Linked DNA regions of Homo sapiens: region 2 is linked to region 1. The links are contacts of gene promoters, found by promoter capture Hi-C in human tissues and cell types (Jung and others, 2019). All regions are on one chromosome and are shown on one strand. Each heading gives the region's core, a stretch centred on a gene start or on the middle of the fragment in contact. The rest is flanking DNA. Distances are from core to core; before and after follow the strand shown.

Region 1 (5,113 bases), core at 1,945-4,444:
GTTTAGCTGTGTTTCACTCATTTTACACAGAATTAGAATTGGCCAGGTGTGGTGGCTCACGCTGTAATCCTAGCACTTTGGGAGGCTGAGGTGGGTGGATTGTCTGAGCTCAGGAGTTTGAGACCAGCCTGGGGAACAGGGTGAAACCCCATCACTACTAAAATACAAAAAAATTAGCTGGGCATTGTGGTACATGGAGTAGCTCCCAGCTACTCTGGAGGCTGAGGCGGAGAATCGCTTGAACTAGGAGGTGGAGATTGAAGTGAGCCGAGATCATGCCACTGTACTCCTGCCTGGGTGACAGAGCAAGACTCTCTCTAGCTCAAAAAAAAAAAAAAAAAAAAAATCAATTAAATGCTACATTTGGCAAAATGAGAAAGAAAGAATTTCCTTTACTAGGCTTGTAGGAAGACTGCTTTTACAAAAACCCAAATGAGATCATAAAACTAAAGTACTGGGACAAACAGTGGGAAACAGTGCAATGGGTTCTTTTCAACCAAGTATTAAAGTATTGGAGATATTGCCGGGCGCGGTGGCTCACGTCTGTAATCCTAGCGCTTTGGGAGGCCAAGGCGGGCGGGTCATGAGGTCAGGAGTTCAAGGCCAGCCTGACCAACATGGCAGAGCTCCGTCTCTACTAAAAATACAAAAATTAGCCAGGCACGGTGGGACGCACCTTTAATCCCAGCTACTCAGGAGGCTGAAGCAGGAGAATCGCTTGAATCGGGGAAGCGGAGGTTGCAGTGAGCCGAGATCGCGCCACTGCACTCCAGCCTGGGTGACTCCCATCTCAAAAAAAATAAAAAGTACTGGAGGTGTCCTGTTGTCCTTGTTACTGTGAAAGGATGCCATGGGTTGTATGGGCAAATGAGTTGTTTTGTTTGAGGCAGAGTGGAAAATAAGATTAGGCTCAGTCCATGAGCCTAGCACTCAACAGATCTTACTTTGGCGTTCTGGCTGTGACTTGGGACTTCTTTTTACCATGGTCTGCTGTAAACACAGAAAAACCCAATGCCTAACAGTTCATGCTGGAGTCTTGAGCGTTGAGGGAGAATCACTGGACTCGAGAGAGAAAGTTTGTTTGTTTGTTTGTTTGTTTGTTTTTTGAGTTGGTCTCACTCTGTCGCCCAGGCTGGAGTGCAGTGGTATGAACATAGGTCACTGCAGCCTTGACCTCCTGGGCTTAAGTGATCCTCCCATCTCAGCCTCCCAAGTAGCTTGGGACCACAGGGTTGCACCACCGTGCTCAGCTAGTTTTCAAAATTTTTGTAGAGTTAAGGTCTCATCATGTTGCCCAGGCTGGTCTCAAACTCCTGGGCTCAGGAAATTCTCCTACCTCAGCCTCCCAACGTGCTGGGATTCCAAGTGTGAGCCCCTGTGCTCCACCAAGAGAAAAACTCTTTGATTGCTAGGAAGTTGGGATAAAGAAATTGTGCTGTGATCAAGCCACCTTCTGTGTCATAGAACCAAAAGAAGACCGCCTGCTATGGCAAGATGGCCTAATTTTATTCCTGCCTCATACTATCATGGATAATCGTTTTCCTTTCTCTAGCAGGTTTGTGTCACTGGGAGTACTGGGAGCATTATCCTGTGTTGTGCTGGGGTTATACCAAGCAGTGTTAACTTTATTTAAAGAATTCAGGCAGAAAGATTAGAGAATTTAAGTAGCAATTGTATATGGTAAGCAATACAGTAACCTTAATAAAAATTAATGATGGCCGGGTACGGTGGCTCACGCCTGTAATCCCAGCACTTTGGGAGGCCGAGGCGGGCGGATCACAAGGTCAGGAGATCGAGACCATCCTGGCTAACACGGTGAAACCCCGTCTCTACTAAAAATACAAAAAATTAGCTGGGCGTGGTGGCAGGCGCCTGTAGTCCCAGCGACTGGGGAGGCTGAGGCAGGAGAATAGCGTGAACCCAGGAGGCGGAGTTTGCAGTGAGCGGAGATCGCACCATTGCACTCCAGCCTGGGCGACAGAGCGAGACTCCGTCTCAAAAAAATAAATAAATAAATAAAAAATAATGTGTATTTTATCAATTCAGTGATAAAGCAGACCTTTGTAAACTGTCTAGCTTGTGGTGACTGATTGAGGGTATCATGAAGCTCCGCGCCCCCCCACTCCCCGACATACTCGTTCATCCTCCTCTGTCCTAAAGCGTACTTCTTTGGAAAAGTAGAGCAGTTTATGTTAGTGTACACTAGAGATGGTAAACTATGCCTTGTGGGTCAAATCGGGCCTGCTGCCTGTGTTTGTATGGCCTGTGAGCAAAGAAAGGTTTTTACATATTTAAATGGTTGGAAAAAATATTTAAAGAATGCTATTTTTGGACACAAAAAATTGTATGAAATTAAAATTTCAATGTCTGTATCTTTTTATTGGGACACAGCCACCGCCATTCCTTTAGCTTTTGTATGCAACAGCTGCAGAGTTGACTATTTGAGACAAGTTGTATGGTCCCCCCAAACTGGAACTGTTTCCATTCTGGCCTTCTACAGAAAGTATTTGGACCCTGGCCTAGATAAATCCTGGCTGGTGGTTATGTTATGTGAAATGTGCACACTGTAAAATATAGGCCTGTATGATTAAAATTTTTGATTTCAGCTACTGTTCATAGTCGATTTAAAGGGCAATTTAATTTACAGCAAATCCAGTTTCTCGGAGATTTGTGTTGGGGCTTTGGCAGCAAAAAAAAATCCTAGGAGTAATCTTGAGAGTTCCATGCCCCCTAGTGGATTGCTATAGGGTTTACTTTTAAATTTTCAAAACACTGAATTGGCCAAGGATTTCCTTGGTCCATATTATCCCAAGGGTCAGAGGCTGAAGGTCGCCTAGACCTGGGCAGATGCTCACAGGTACTGTCGTGGCCTGGGCAAATCTAGGCACGTCAGCGCTCATTTCTATTCCCTTTCCCACATTCCAGCAAACGAGACTAGGCTTGAAGGGACCCACCCTCCTCTCCTCTGATTCCTCGTGACGCCGCACTCCTCTTACTCTCCCCGGGGCTCATCCGGGGGAATGGGGCAGATTATGTCCCACCGGTTGGACAAACTAACGAGGGCGGGGAAAGGAAAAAAAAAATCAGAATAGGAAGCCAATCAGAGCTCGGTACAAGCCCAGCCAATCGGGTCGGGTCAATTGGGGCTTAGCCAATCGGGCTCGATGAGGAAGACGTGAGTCAGAGCTTGCGCCTCTCGCTTCCAGCTGTGGGTGGCGCTAGGCAGCTTCAGCCGGACCGGGTAGGGGTCCTCGCTCGCTAGCTTGCTGTTTCTCGGAGAAGCTCCCGAGTGTCCGGCCTAGAGGCCATGAGAAGGCAGTGGGGGTCTGCCATGAGGGCGGCCGAGCAGGCGGGCTGCATGGTGAGCGCCTCCCGGGCCGGACAGCCCGAGGCGGGCCCGTGGAGCTGCAGCGGGGTAATCCTGAGCCGTAGCCCGGGCCTGGTGCTTTGCCACGGGGGCATCTTCGTCCCCTTCCTGCGAGCTGGCAGCGAAGTCCTGACCGCGGCCGGCGCCGTCTTCCTGCCTGGCGACAGTTGCAGGGACGACCTGCGCCTGCACGTGCAGTGGGCCCCAACGGCCGCGGGTCCCGGGGGCGGCGCGGAGCGGGGCCGCCCAGGGCTGTGCACGCCCCAGTGCGCGAGCCTCGAGCCCGGCCCACCTGCCCCGTCCCGCGGGCGTCCCCTGCAGCCCCGGCTTCCTGCTGAGCTGCTGCTGCTGCTGAGCTGCCCGGCCTTCTGGGCCCACTTCGCGCGCCTCTTCGGGGACGAGGCAGCGGAACAGTGGCGCTTCTCGAGCGCGGCGCGGGATGACGAAGTGTCGGAGGACGAGGAGGCGGATCAACTGAGAGCGCTGGGCTGGTTTGCGCTGCTGGGCGTGCGGCTAGGCCAGGAGGAGGTGGAGGAGGAGCGCGGGCCAGCCATGGCGGTGTCGCCTCTCGGGGCCGTGCCCAAGGGTGCGCCATTGCTGGTCTGCGGCTCCCCTTTCGGCGCCTTCTGCCCCGACATCTTTCTCAACACGCTGAGCTGCGGGGTGCTCAGCAACGTGGCCGGCCCACTGCTGCTTACCGACGCACGCTGCCTGCCCGGCACCGAGGGCGGCGGCGTGTTCACCGCGCGGCCCGCGGGGGCGCTGGTGGCGCTGGTGGTGGCGCCGCTCTGTTGGAAGGCCGGCGAATGGGTGGGCTTCACGCTGCTCTGCGCCGCCGCCCCCCTTTTCCGCGCCGCCCGCGACGCGCTTCACCGCCTGCCGCACAGCACCGCTGCCCTGGCCGCCCTTCTGCCGCCAGAGGTGGGCGTCCCGTGGGGTCTGCCCCTCCGAGACTCCGGGCCCCTGTGGGCAGCCGCGGCAGTGTTGGTGGAGTGCGGCACCGTATGGGGCTCCGGAGTGGCTGTGGCACCCCGCCTTGTAGTGACCTGTCGGCACGTGTCCCCTCGGGAAGCAGCCAGGGTCCTGGTGCGCTCCACCACCCCCAAGTAAGCCCGCAGGGCTGACGCCACTTCATCCCTTTCCAGGTCTCAGATCTGGGTCCAGCCCTAATACTCTTGAGTATTGTGCAGGCCTTTCTTGTGTCACGCGGATGCTTTGGGCGTGTAGTGGGTAGAGACCTGGAACCCTCCCCTCATCCTTTATACCCAGAACCCCTGTGGGGAGAATCTGGGGCAAGGTGTCAAGCTCGAAGCAGCTCTGGATTTGGGTACTGTGGGACACCCTGAATCCGGAACAGGGCATCTTTGAGCTCCCCTCAAAGGCTGAGTTTCTTCTGGGCAGCTTCACTGTCTGATAGCCCTGCACGCCATACCCCTCGGTTCTCTGGCCCTTTGAACAGAGATTCCCTAACCCTGCTGCTTCTCCTCTGAAAGTGATAAGGTCCCAGAGGCCCAGGATGGTGCTCTCCTGGGGTAAGGAGATGGGTATGTTAATTTTATCCATCTTTTAGTGCTTAGCCAGAGCTTCCCGTCTGAGTGAAACGTGAGTTTCTACGTAATCAGAAGGTAGGGGGGTGGCCCACGCAGCTGTACATGGTTCAGCCCAGCCTTGCAGCCCAGGCTTTTCCAAATCTCTTCCTGAATCCCCAAGCTTAGCCAGGTGTGGGTAACACTGCCCAGTTTTGCC
Region 2 (5,186 bases), core at 2,296-4,795, 350 kb after region 1:
CTGCATCAAGCAACAAGACAGAAGGGTACCTGGGCCCCTGACGGCTTCGTGGAGTCAAGTTGCCAAACAAGCCTAGACTTTCACATAAATGAGAAATAATTGAGTTCATTTGAGCCGCTGTTATTCTGGGTCTGTCTTCTGTAGCATAAGCCACATGTGACTGTGACTTGCATCTGTCCCCTCCTGAGCTGTGAGTTCCCAGGGGGCAGGGATGACTGTACTCATCCCCATATCCTCAGCATTCAGCACAGCATAGATGCCCAAGGAATGGTGGAGTGAAGGAATGAGTGAGCGAATGATGGAATGAATGGATGGATTCTAGCTCTGGCTCTCTCCTAGCTCTGTTACCTAAGGTGTGCATCTACTCATCTACTTCTTCTTATATAACATGTAGAGATTGATGGGCAAGGGAGGAAAGGAGAAGTGGAATGGCTAAGGGCCTTCCCAGCTCAAAAATCCATTCATTCAACAAGTATTTACGGAGTGCTGTCTAGTGCCAGGCTCTGTGCTGGTGTTGGAGACACAATCGTAAATGAGACAAGGCTGGTGGTGAGGGCCAACCCTGAGAAGCACTACCATGCAGGAAATAGTGGGAGCGTAGAAGAGTAGCCCCTACTAGGCTTGGGACATAAGACCTGAAGGGTGAGTAGAGTGGCCAGGTGAATGGGGTATAGGGAAGGCATGCCAAACAGGGGAACCTACCTGTGCAAAGGCCTGTAGGTGAGAAAGTGCATAGTGCTTTGGGGAAGCCAAGTGGTTCACCAAGGCTGAAATGTGGAGTGCAGAGGAAAAGGACTGAGGGCTTCTTCACTCTCCTGTTTTCTGCACCTTTGGGTGCTTATGGTTTCAGGCCGTGAGTGACCATGTTCACGCGTGTGTGTGTGACTCCCATCTGCCATCAATGTAAGATTTTGGGGTGTGTACATGCCTTTTCTGCTCTTGTGTTTTGCGACACAGAAGATCGTGCACATTTCTGCACACACAGTCAAGCAGGCATATGTAGGGGAGTGCAAATGCTGTGGGTTACCAGGGCTGCCTCAAGGTACACATGAGTTGGCTCCAAGCCATTCCCTGTGTGTGTGTATGAGTGTTTGTGTGCGTTGGCAGAAAGGGAAGTGTGCTAAGCTCTATGTATGTAATCTACTTTGGTTGAGATGCATATACAAGAGCATGTAGGTGCTTCTGAATGGTCAGGACTCCAACCATGTCTAGGAATGATGGTAGCCATAACTAGGGACAATATATCAGTCATCTATAGCTGCATAACAAACTGCTCCAAAACTTAGTGATTTAAACAATGATTTATTATTTCTTATGATTCTGTGTATTGACAGGGCTCAGCTAAAAGGTTCTTCTGCTTCAGGTAGTATGGCTATAGTCTATCCTGAGCCAGCATGGTCAGGACCCCAACCATGTCTAAGAATGATGGTAGCCATAACTAGGGACAGTATGTCAGTCATCTCTAGCTGCATAACAAACTGCTCCAAAACTTAGTGGTTTAAACAGTGATTTATTATTTTTTATGATTATGTGTATTGACAGGGCTCAGCCAAAAGGTTCTTCTGCTCTAGGCAATATGGCTATAGTTTATCCTGAGCCAGCATGGGGGCTGGCTTTCATGAGGAGTGTTCCAAGACTGCTTATCATGCCTCTGCTTGTGCGACAATTGCTAATGTCTCATTGGCCAAAACAAGTCACATGGCCAAGCCCAGAGTCATGTGGGAAGAAACTAATCAATGTCATGAATACCAGGATGTAAGGTCCACAAATGTAAGTGTTTACCTGAGCAAGAATGAATGCCTGGTAGGGTGGGCTACTGGATCTGTCTAGAGGATTATTTGACCCTGAAAAGTAGGATTTGGGGAATGTTGTGGTTAGCAAAGCCCATGCCCAGCTGTCAACCCCAGTGCCCAGATGCTGCCCAGACCCACTGTCTTTTGTTGACTTCTTCCAGGAGCAGCTGGAGGTACTAAGCAGCCCATATCCCTCTGGACCTGGATGGTTTGAGAGTAATTCAGCAGAAATCTCCTACCTGGCACCTACCTTGCCTTATTCCAAGGCCAGGTGTAGATGGCTCTGAAACTAATTTTCTATTCACTTGGAGGCTATTTCAGGTAGTTTCAGGTTCTGGCTCCATTGTGTGCTCCCTATGTGACTTTGCAAATTATGTGGCCTCTCTGCATCTGTTTTTTAAAGCATGAACTATAAGGAGAAGAATTCCTATCTCCTAGAGTTATTGTGAGGATTGGATGCAATAGTGGATGCAAAGTGCTGAGTCAGGACTAGGTTCATGGAAGCCAACCTTGACATTGTAATAACTGTAGAGACTGGGCATGTACAATAAAAACCAAACAGGGGTTCTTGCCTCCTCTCAAGCCCTGTGTTCTGGCAGTGGAGAGGAGGGCTACTGCTTGCCCATTTGCACGGTCTAGGTCATTGATATAAATTAGTCTGCATTTATTATTGAGCCTCCTAGTGGGAGCAAAACCCAGAGTTAGGTACTCACAGAACTCACAGTCCTGAGGGGCATCTGTGGGGACTTATGTGTGCAGAAGAAAGAACAGCAGTGCCAGGCAGCATAAGCTGAAGGCCAAACAAGTAGGCAGATGATTAGTGCCTTGGGACTCAGAGAAGGGAAGTGGGTGGAGACTTAGAGTTGAAGTGAAGGTTCAGGAAGGCTTCCTGGAAGAGGTGAATTCTAAGCTGGTCCTTGGAGCATGGCAGGATCCAGACAAAGAAAGGGACTGGGAGAATAGAGCAGAAGTTCCAAGGTTATGTGGTCCATCCTTGCCTGGGTGCATCATGTGACCTCCTGAACCCCAATAACCCCAAACACCTGACCTTCCATTCTTCTTAAGTGGTATGGTCTGGTCGTGTTTCACACACATGCCAATACTTCCCATGCCACTGGCAGACATCACTAATCAACTACAGAACACCACTCCCACCATACACACACACACACACACACACACACACACACACGCACACACACACACAATCCCTTATGCCCCTCAAAGCAGAAAGCTATTATCAATCTAGTGAGATTAGTACTTGAGATGAAACCATTTTGCTGATTCAGTTTGAGTTGAAACAAAGCACCAGAAGCTTTGCTTCTTTATCTACAAATTGTGTGCCTTTTGGTAAATGCCTTAACCTCTCTGGAACCTTCTCCTGCCCAGGCAGGGGAAGATGAATTCTTACTTAGGGGAATGCTGGAAGACTCAAATGAGATCATGTGTGCAAAGCCCTAATCAAGTGCAAAATACAGAAGAGATGTTGGTGATGGTCGTGCTGCAACCAGGCATCAGAAACCACAAGCAAATGCAGCCATTAGGGCCTGATTTGCAGCTTGCTGGAGAAAGAACAATCGGTTAAGGAGTGAGAGTGAAACACAGACCCTCAGAGCTGTCAGTCCATGGAAACAAGGGCTCAGAATCTAGGCCTCAGAGTTAGTGGAAGGGCGCCCCAATTATGTGCTCGGAGAAGGACGCAGGACTTGAGCTCTCCCTGACAGGCAGGAAGAGCTGTCGGAAAGGTGGGCAACTGCAGTTTAAGAGACAGATGTTTCTGGTTGATGACCGATGGATAATGAAGAGCCCAATTAGTTTACTGATCCAGATCCCCGCTTACCAGAATTTGAGGTATGCAAGTTATAGCATTGTGTCTCTGCTCTCTTTCCTGTCCCCCAACCCTCTGCCCGCCCCCACCACTGTGGAACTCTTGGTCTTGACCACAGAACTCAGTAGTCAGATCTTATCTTAGGGGCTACTCTCCTGGTTTGAAGTGTGGGGCACCCCCACCCCTTGCCCAGAAGGACCTTTGTCAATCCTCCAAGGCTCCACTAGTATGTGGCATCTGCAGAAACTGAATACAGAGAGGTCAGAATGTGGTCCAAGGTTACCCAGCATACTAGTGGCAGAACCAGACCTGCCACTCAGGGCAGGTCTTTTCCCTGCCAGGCAACTCACAGCCCCCAGGTTCAGGCTCAGCCCATTGTCTGGACTGTGGCCAAGGGCCAGTTAATCCACAGGAGGTTTTGCACTCATGACTGAGCTCTTCTCCCTCCAGCTCTTTCCCCAGCAGTAGCTGTGAAGGCAGAACCACCTGAAACATTTGTTCCCATAAACCTCATTACAAAGGCCATTTTTTTCTTTTCTCTTTTTCCTAAAAGCTGTTGCTTTGTTAAGGTCATTTCTGAAATGGGGAGGGATGCCCTGTTTATCTTTCCCGTACACTCCACCCCCATCAGGAAACGAGGGGTCTTGCTTTCCTTGAGTGCTCTGTTCCTGACATTAGCTAGCTGCTGACAGGCAGGTCTATGGATATATTAACTTGGGCCTTTCCGAGACTTTATTAGGCTCTAGGACAACGTCTAGAAACAGATGTTTGCTCAGAGGTGGAGCAGGAGTAGGGGGAATAGAGCCAAAAGCAAGTCCCAGCCCCCGAGGGAACAGGGCAGATGTGCTGAGGGCTCTGGTAGAGCACAGGGCAGTGGGCTGGGGTGGGAACTTTGTGAGTATGAAGGAATGGCTCCAGTTCCTGGCTGGGCACAGGCAGCTATTTGCCAAGTGGCCTGGCCATCACAGCACAGGCTTGTTAGCTTCCAAGGACTCTGGGTCTGTTCAGGGCTTAGGGCCAGTGCTGAAGAGGTGCCAGATGCTGCCCCTACAGCTTCCCTCTTTGCTCCCATCCTGTGGCCAAGGACTAGAAGTCTAGCTCCTTGAACAAGTCAACTTTCTTGTTTCCAGAGACAGTAAATTCCTGCAGGGCTGGAGATTTCTTCAAACTCATATTTGTGTAGTTCAAATGTGAAGTTCAAGGCTGGGCACATTATAGTTCTCAGAAAAAGAGTGATGATGGTGGCGGTGGTGGTGGTGGTGGTTATAGTGGTGGTGATGGTGGTGGTGATGGCAGTAGTGGTGATAATGATGCTGGTGGTGGTGGTAGTGGTGGTGATGCAGTGGTGGTGGTGACGGTGGGTGGTGGTGATGGTGACGGCAGTGGCAGTGATGGTGGGTGGTGGTGGTGGTGGTGATAGTGATGATGATAGTAATGATAGTAGTGGTAATGGTGGTGGAGGCGGTGATGGCAGTAGTGGAGATAATGGTGGTGGTGATGGTGGTAGTGGTGGTGATGGTGGTGGAGATGGTGGTGACGGTGGTGGTGGTGGTGATGATAGTGAT

Evidence for each region. The method cuts DNA at HindIII sites, captures the fragments that hold promoters and counts their contacts. A contact is called where the count stands out against the background at its distance.
Region 2: a fragment that was not itself captured here is called in contact with the fragment with the promoter of TYSND1 in region 1 in 1 of the 25 tissues and cell types used here (IMR-90 fibroblasts).

The regions. Positions count from the first base shown.
Region 1 is chr10:70,144,781-70,149,893 of GRCh38, reverse strand. It overlaps TYSND1 (trypsin like peroxisomal matrix peptidase 1), which reads left to right and starts at 3,194. Exons shown (of 4, transcript NM_173555.4): 1 at 3,194-4,473. The coding sequence starts at 3,308. It overlaps SAR1A (secretion associated Ras related GTPase 1A), which reads left to right. Exons shown (of 7, transcript NM_020150.5): 7 at 1-2,605. RefSeq lists silencers at 3,423-3,732, 4,063-4,292 and an enhancer at 3,883-3,932. The HindIII fragment of the contact is 18,753 bases long and covers 1-5,113 here.
Region 2 is chr10:69,791,958-69,797,143 of GRCh38, reverse strand. No RefSeq gene overlaps it. Among named protein-coding and RNA genes, the nearest start is that of COL13A1, 7.4 kb to the left of the region's middle. The HindIII fragment of the contact is 5,520 bases long and covers 786-5,186 here.